3 separate regions of the Homo sapiens genome follow, and regions 1 and 2 are each linked to region 3. The links are contacts of gene promoters, found by promoter capture Hi-C in human tissues and cell types (Jung and others, 2019). All regions are on one chromosome and are shown on one strand. The core of a region is centred on a gene start or on the middle of the fragment in contact, and the rest is flanking DNA. Distances in the headings are between cores, read along the strand shown. Region 1 has its middle 3.7 kb from the start of ZKSCAN7-AS1. Region 2 overlaps TCAIM (T cell activation inhibitor, mitochondrial). Region 3 holds the start of ZKSCAN7 (zinc finger with KRAB and SCAN domains 7).

Region 1 (2,700 bases), core at 196-2,695, 130 kb after region 3:
AGTCAGAATGAAGTGAAAGGCAAGAAGCTTTTATTGCAAAACAAAAGTACACACTTAAGAGAGAAGTGTGAGTGTGCTCATGAGAATGAGTCACACACAACGAGTTTCTAATTTTATGGGTGTTTCTTTAATTATGGGGTGGAATAATCATTCAGTATTTTGGAAAAGAAAGGGATTTCAGAGACTCCTCCCAGCCCCCTATTCCCCCCATTACCACCCCCTTTCTCCCTTATTTGGGTTTGCCAAGAAGAGTCATGGACATGTCAGCCTGACCAGGGTTTTGGCCATTTTCTCTCCCTTATTTTGAGTTTTCTGTTATCCTGTGGTTTCTTTGCCTAGTTCTTATTTTAACTGTTGTTCAGGTTTTTCCATACTCCTGTGACTACCCAGTGCTACTCCTGTCTCACAGGTCCAGGAGAAGATGGGTGTCCCAGCTCCAGGAGAGAGAGAGTGAATTCACCTCTCTCTTTTTGTTCTACCTGGGCTCTCAGCCCTTTGGATGGTGCCCACCCATGTTGTGTGAGGGCACATTTTCCTTACTCAGAACACAGATTCAAATGCCAATCTCTTCCAGGAACACTCTCACAGACATACATCCAAAATAGTGCTTTACCAGTTATCTGGGTATTCCTTAACCCAGTCAAGTTGACACCTAAAATTAACCATCACATGTTCTTATAATAAGGAGGGGTTGTTCTACATCTCATTACTGGCTCAGGCCGAAGATAGGTCAAAACTTAAGGACCTAGGGGAGGGAGAGGAGCTTAACTAAAGCTTGGTCAAGTTAAATTAGCAGGTATGCTGTCCAAATTGGTCATGGGTACAAACAGTTCAGTTAATCACTTGTAAAGCAAATCATCTGGAGGGTCTGTGTCTAGACAAACAAGGGGGTGGGGCTATCTGTGAGTCTCATCTAAGTCATATGGGGAAGGATGGCTCTTTGCAGGAAGTCATTTCCTAGAACACTAAAGGGTGTGGGGATTTTTAATTGTCACTGTTTTCCAGGAGAGCAGACTCAGGTAAAGTTTAACATTTTCAGACTCTTGGGGAAAATTAGGTTATCTATTCTTCGTTGGCTGAGATAGGATTCATGAAACACTATCATAAAATATGGCACCTTGCCATTTGAGAAAACAGCAGAAGCAAGATGGTCTCTCTGACCTTCTCCCATGATTCTCCCCTGAAGCAGGCCATAAAACATTCCCTTGGCGGGTGCAGTGGCTCACACCTGTAATCCCAGCACTTCGGAAGGCCGAGGCAGGTGAATCACGAGGTCAGGAGTTCGAGACCAGCCTGGCCAATATGGTGAAACCCTGTCTCTACTAAAAATACAAAAAAAAAATGAGCTGGGTATGGTGGTGCGCGCCTGTAGTCCTGCTACTTGGGAGGCTGAGGCAGAAGAATCTTGAACCTGGGAGGCAGAGGTTGCAGTGAGCCAAGATCACACCACTGCACTCCAGCCTGGGCAACAGAGTGAGACTCTGTCTCAAAAAGAAACAAACAAACAAACAAAAAACCAAAAAAAAAACCTTCCCTTAAAAGGCTGGGCATGGTGGCTTTCTCACACCTGTAATCCCAGCATGATGGGAGGCCAAGGTGGATGGATCACCTGAGGTCAGGAGTTTGAGACCAGACTGGCCAACATGGCAAAACCCTGTCTCTACTAAGAATACAAAAATTAGCCAGATGTGGTGGCGTGCACCTGTAATCCCAGCTACTCAGGAGGCTGAGGCCGAGAATCTCCTGAACCCAGGAGGCGGAGGTTACAGTGAGCCAAGATCATACCATTGCACTCTAGCCTGGGCAATAAGAGTGAAACTCTATCTTGAAAATAGTAATAATAATAATAATATCCTTTCTTGCAAAATATAGTAATTAAAAAATTAATCCTACATCACAAACCCTTGTAGCAGACAGAGCACATCTCCCCATATATATGATCATTGCACCTAGGGTGGACACTTTCTTCCTCTTACTTTCAGGGACACCCTACTTTGTCTATGGTGTAGCTGTACTTTCACTACTTTCACACCAGCTCACCAGCAATGGATCCAAACCAAGACAAAATCTGTGAATTGCCAGAAAAAGAATTCAGACAGTCAACTATTAAGCCAACCAAGCAGGCATCAGAGAAAGATGAGGTCCAACTTAAAAAAAATTTTTTAAATGATACAGTATATGAAGGGGAAACTCTCCAGTGAAATAGGTAGCATAAATAAAAATTACAACTTCTGGAAATCAAGGACACATTTAGAGAATTGGAAATGCACTGGAAAGTCTCAGCAATAGACTCAAACAAGAAGGAAAAGAATATCAGAGCTCAAAGACAAGCCTTTCAAATTAACCCAGTTCATCAAAGACCAAGAAAAGAGAATTTTAAAAAATGAACAAAACTTCTAAGAAATTTGGGATTATGTAAAATGACCAAACCTATGAATAATTGTTGTTCCCAAGGAAGACAAGAAATCTAAAATCTTGGAAAACATATTAGAGGTAATAATTGAGAAAAACTTCCCTGGTCTTGCTAGAGATCTAGACATCCAAATACAAGAAGCTCAAAGAACACCTGGGAAATTCATTGCAAAAAGATCATTGCCTAGGCACACACTCATCAGGTTATCTAAAGTCAAGACTAAGGAAAGAATCTTAAGAGCTGTGAGACAAAAACATCAGGAACCTATAAAGGAAACCCTATCAGAT
Region 2 (2,700 bases), core at 123-2,622, 210 kb before region 3:
GAGTTCGAGACCAGCCTGGCCAACATGGAGAAACTCCATCTCTACTAAAAATACAAAAATTCGCTGGGTGCGGTGGCAGGCGACTGTAATCCCAGCTACTCGGGAAGCTGAGGCACGAGAATCGCTTGAACCTGGGAGGCAGAGGTCGCAGTGAGCCGAGATCATGCCACTGCACTATAGCGCAGGTGACAGAGCGAGACTCTGTCTCAAAAAAAAAAAAGAAGAAATGTTTTGGTGTTACAACAGACTTTTCTTAACCATCTATGTTATTTAAGAGATGAGGAAACAGACTCCAGAAGGTAACGTAACTTGCCCTTGCTCACACAGTCACTGAAGATGTCAAGATTTGAATACAAATCTCAAGCCCCCTAGCCTCCATTTCCTAACCATTATGCAAACTACCTACTTTGACAGTCACATTCACTGGAAGTGTTTAGATCAGCACAATCCAATAAAAATAGAATGTAAGCCTTGGATATAATTTAAAATTTTCTAAAAACTAGATGTTTTACTTTTTAAAAAGTAAAAGTGAAATTAATTTTAATAAATTATAATTTCAACACATAACCAATATGAAAAATTATTACTGAGATACTTTCCATTGTTTGTACTGAATCTTTTAAATCCAGTGGGTATGTTAAGCTTAACACATCTCTATTTAGACTAACCACATTTCAAGTGCACAGTAGCTACATGTGGCTAGTGGCTGCCTACTGTTTTAGACAGCAGAGGCCTAGATTGTAATTCTATTACTCTACTGAAATGTAAACCTTTTTAGGAAATAGCTTGCTCACAAAATAAGCAGATAGAAAACACCTAATTCTCAACCTGTCATTTTTTTAGTGCTCTCTTTCTAAATCTGGAAACCATGATTTAATGTTTAGATTTGTATTTGGTAACATTTTATTTTTGTTGAGAAAATCTATTGTCACATTTCTAAGCACTAATGTCCTTTATTAGTCATTTCTCAGTAGTAGTTTAGTTATACTCTGTGATTACAAAGCGATTAGTGGATGAATGTATTTTTCTGGATAACTAAAGACCTTGAACTTTACACAAATTTTATTTTGCTTTGATTATTTTTGATGGAAATGCTTTTTTTTTTTTTTTTTTGAGAGAGTCTCACTCCATCACCCCGGTTGGAGTGCAGTGGTGCAATCTCAGCTCACTGCAAACTCCACCTCCCAGGCTCAAGGCCTCAGCCTCCCAAGTAGCTGGAATTACAGGCGTGTGTCACCACACTCAGCTAATTTTTGTATTTTTAGCAGAGATGGGGTTTTGCCATGTTGGCCAGGCTGGTCTTGAACTCCTGCCCATTTTCACCTCCCAAAGTGCTATGATTACAGGGATGAGCCACCATACCGAGCCTCAGAAATGCTTCTGAAATGCTTCTGAAATGTGCTACATAATTCCATCTTACACACAACATACTTTATCCTCCATGATTAAAAGTCATTAAGGATACTATCTTAGTCTTCAGCTGCTGTGTCAAACTATCATAAACCAGATAGCTTAAAAACAACAGAAATATATTTCTTGCGGTTCTGGAGTCTGGGAAATTCAACATCAAGATGTCTGCAGATTTGTTGTCTTGCTATAACTTCACATGGTAGGGGGCAAGATAGCCCTCTGGGGCTTTTTTCTTTTTCCTTTTTTGTAATTTTCCTTTTTTCTGATAGTTTTGATCAGAGGACAGGACTTTTTATAAGGGCACTAATGACCTTATTACTGTCACACGCGTCCGTGTGAAGAGACCACCAAACAGGCTTGGAGAGAGCAATGAAGCTTTTTATTCACCTGGGTGCAGGCGGGCTGAGTCCAAAAAGAGAGCAGAGGGAGTTAGGGGTGGGGTAGTTTTATAGGATTTGGGTAGGTAGTGGGGAAGATTACAGTCAAAGGGGATTGTTCTCTTGCGGGCAGGGGCGGGGGTCACAAGGTGCTCAGTCGGGGAGCTTCTGAGCCAGGAGAAGGAATTCAATTCACAAGGTATTGTCATCAGTTAAAGCAGGAACCGGCCATTTTCACTTCTTTTGTGATTCTTCAGTTACTTCAGGCCATCTGGATGTATACGTTCAGGCTTGGGCTCAGAGGCCTGACATTCCTGTCTTCTTACATTAATAAGAAAAATAAAATAGTGGTAAAGTGTTGGGGCCCTGAAAATTTTTGGGGGTGGTATGGAAAGATAATGGGCGACGTTTCTCAGGGCTGCTTCGAGCAGGATTGGGGCGGCGTGGGAACCTAGAGTGGGAGAGATTAAGCTGAAGGAAGATTCTGTGGTAAGAGGTGATATTGTGGGGTTGTTAGAAGGAGCATTTGTTGTATAGAATGATTGGTGATGGCCTGGATACGGTTTTGTATGAATTGAGAAACTAAACAGAAGACGCAAGGTCCAAATAAGAGAAGGAGAAAAACAGGTATTAAAGGACTTAAGAATTGGGAGGACCCAGGACATCCAACTAGAGAGTGCCCAAGGGGGTTCAGCATAATTACTTGCTTGGTTGGCAAGTTTTTGGGCTCTATCTTTGAGTTTTTTTATGTTGTCATATACCAGGCCAGATTGATTTAGGTAAAAACAACACTCTTCGTTTAATATACAGAGTCCCCTTTTTTTTTAGCAGTGACTAACGAGTCCTCCACGATTTTGGAGGAAAGAGAAATACAAAGCCAGCAATTGTTTGTTAAAGAAGGATTAGAAACGGC
Region 3 (2,700 bases), core at 168-2,667:
CTGCTCAGATGGGCCTGGTCCTTACAGCCAATGAAAGCCAACCACTTGTGCATGAAACAGCTCTGAAGAATAAAAAACCTCAATCTTGGTTTCCAAATCCTTGTGTCTCCTATAATAGGAAGCCAGGACTGCAGGACAACACGTGGTCAAGGAGACCTGAAAATCAGGTCTGAGAGCATTTAGCCTGGCCTTGGGAGATTTCCTCCTCAAGAATCCTAAGCTTCTGGGGCCTTGATTTGCCTTCCACCTCAAGAATCCTAAGCTTCTGAGGCCTTGATTTGCCAGTAGGCAATGTCTAGCATCAATGTCAGGCAGAGGCTGGGGTTCCTGGTTTTAAATAGCCAAAACCTCCTTGTGAGATTTCCAAATGGAGAGGGGGACCTTGATGACAGGAAACCACCATTAGGATCAATGGACAAAGATTGCTCCAAGAGATTACTTTTAAGCTTGTGGAAACTCTGGAGCAGGACTTCTGGTGTCTTTGTTTCTATCTTGGCTCACACAGATATATGAGGAACATATGTCAGGGCCAGGGTTAGGCCCAGGGCACCTTTGAAATATTGCCATCCCTAGACAGTCCAGGAGACTGTTTACTTTGGGCCCTGTAAAGGACCTATCTCCTGTGCTATAATAAAGATACACAGTTAACTTCATCACACCCTTTGCCCTTCACCCGTGGTCATTAACACACAGGGCCTGCTCAACCATGTTTGTAACAAGGACCAGTTCATATCCTCCTTCTGTATGCAAACCATTCTTCAAAGTGAAAGTCACCTGGGTACCACCTGCCACCCAGAGGCTAGACAACTGCCTACTAGGTTACAAACTGTCCCCACACCTTCTCAGTTTATCTGCTTCTTGGTCTCCCTAGGAACCTCTACATGGACACCAGAATGCTGGTGCTGTCTTACGAAATATTAACCACATTTATGGGCCAAAATATCACAATTTCTAGACATGCTTCTTCATTTTTAAGATGGGAGATGCTTGCTGCTCCCTTCACTGAGACTTCAGATTGGGCATCACACATGGTATAACTGACTGCTCAGGATATGCCAGGCCTTTTGCTATGTAGTGTCTGTTAACCTCATGCGGTGCTCCCAGCCCTGTGAGGTACGCATTATGCTCTGCATTTTTTTCAGATGAGAAAACAGGCTTGGAGGTTGGGTATCTTTCCCAAGGACACCTGGAGGAGAAGGTGTAGAGCTGGGACGCGTCTGGATCCCCCGACTATGGCCTGAGAGCGGGATGTGAGTGGCCTGGGCCCTCGCGAGACCCCGACCCCGCCCGCGGCAGGTGGCCGGGCACAGCCGAGAAGTAAGCCCTGCCAGCTCTCCCGGGTGCGGGGACGCGCGCGCCCACCTTCGCAAACGAGACTTCCGGGATCCCGGAGGGGGCGGAAGTCGAGGCCTCTCTCGCTTCCGGCTCGGCCATTGTTTTTGGTCTAACGGGCAGTAGAGTGTCCGGCTTCGGTGCCGAGTGCCACCGCGAGTGGGCCGAGACGCGGAGGGAGGCGCGGCCGGAGCTCGGGTCGCCGACGCTGGCCAGGACCGCGCTTCTTCCCGGCGGCAGGCGGCGCGGTCCCCGTGACTCTCAGAAGCCGCCCGATGTAGAGCCGCTTCTTTGTCTCATACCCCTGACCATTCGTGCGTGGCACGGAGCCGGGTATCTGCGGGTACAGCGATGAACAGGGCAGACGTGGCCAGGTGAGCGGCGCTGCTGAAGCCTGGTTTAACACGAAAGGTAGATCGCTGTTTTCCCAGCTCTTGCAGTAGGAAACTGTATGAACTGTCATATTTGGGTCAGACCCAGGCTCAGAATCGCAAACGTGGAGCGTGACTTGGAAATGCAAAAATCCAATTGAGATTTTAAAGTGCTGAGCATTCGGAACACTATGGGAAGCAGGAGAATGGCCTGAACTTTCTACATATATGGGATCTTAGAGCAGAGTTTACAGATTATTTTAAAGTCCTTCTTTGTCTTTTTAAAGAGATTGAGACACAGGGATCTGGGCTCTTGGTGAACTGGAAGCACAGCACAGATGCCCTAGTTACCAGTAAGGTGCTGATTTTAAAACGTTCAAAGTTTTCCTCCACTTCAGTGTCAGCTAAATGTATCATATTCATTCATTTCCCAATTATGTGTGCCATGTGCACACGTGTACAAAGATGACTGGAAGTCAGCTCTGCCCTTTGTATCCTCCCAGAAAGCAGGGGAGACAGTCGTGTAAACCACAAACGATTACAGTGTGAGATGTGCTCTACTAGAGGTTTGAATGAAAAAGGTAGTTTGGGATCACTGAGACAATAACCACCTCTCTAAGCCTAGCGTGATCAGGAAGGCTTTCTAGGGGAGGTGCATTGAGTAAAAAAAGGTCTAGTATTTTCTGATTCCATTTGGTTCCTTTCCTTTGGTGGCCGTGCAGCAGTTTGGAGGGTGAGAGTGGTGAGTTGTGCATAAACCAGTTAAAGGGTTATAGTGAGAGGTACACAAAGGGAAGCTACCAGCACTCTTCCTGATGGGGCAATCAGGAAAACCAAGAAAAAGTTGCCTTTGTTCATGGTCTTGACAGACAAGTTTGCCAAAAGTTGAAGAAGAAAAATTCAAAGAAAGAGTATGTGTGGCTTCTAAGTGTGTCTCTAGAGCTTTAGCTCCAAACTTTCTTTATTTTGCATTTCTATCAGTAGAAGAGGTTTGATC

The links. The method cuts DNA at HindIII sites, captures the fragments that hold promoters and counts their contacts. A contact is called where the count stands out against the background at its distance.
Region 1: a fragment that was not itself captured here is called in contact with the fragment with the promoter of ZKSCAN7 in region 3 in 1 of the 25 tissues and cell types used here (spleen).
Region 2: a fragment that was not itself captured here is called in contact with the fragment with the promoter of ZKSCAN7 in region 3 in 1 of the 25 tissues and cell types used here (H1 embryonic stem cells).

The regions. Positions count from the first base shown.
Region 1 is chr3:44,688,032-44,690,731 of GRCh38, forward strand. No RefSeq gene overlaps it. Among named protein-coding and RNA genes, the nearest start is that of ZKSCAN7-AS1, 3.7 kb to the left of the region's middle. The HindIII fragment of the contact is 6,943 bases long and covers 1-2,700 here.
Region 2 is chr3:44,342,929-44,345,628 of GRCh38, forward strand. All of the region lies in intron 1 of TCAIM (T cell activation inhibitor, mitochondrial), which reads left to right. Among named protein-coding and RNA genes, the nearest start is that of TCAIM, 5.5 kb to the left of the region's middle. The HindIII fragment of the contact is 6,194 bases long and covers 1-2,700 here.
Region 3 is chr3:44,553,776-44,556,475 of GRCh38, forward strand. It overlaps ZKSCAN7 (zinc finger with KRAB and SCAN domains 7), which reads left to right and starts at 1,418. Exons shown (of 6, transcript NM_001288590.2): 1 at 1,418-1,706. RefSeq lists silencers at 1,172-1,221, 1,332-1,471. The HindIII fragment of the contact is 4,885 bases long and covers 7-2,700 here.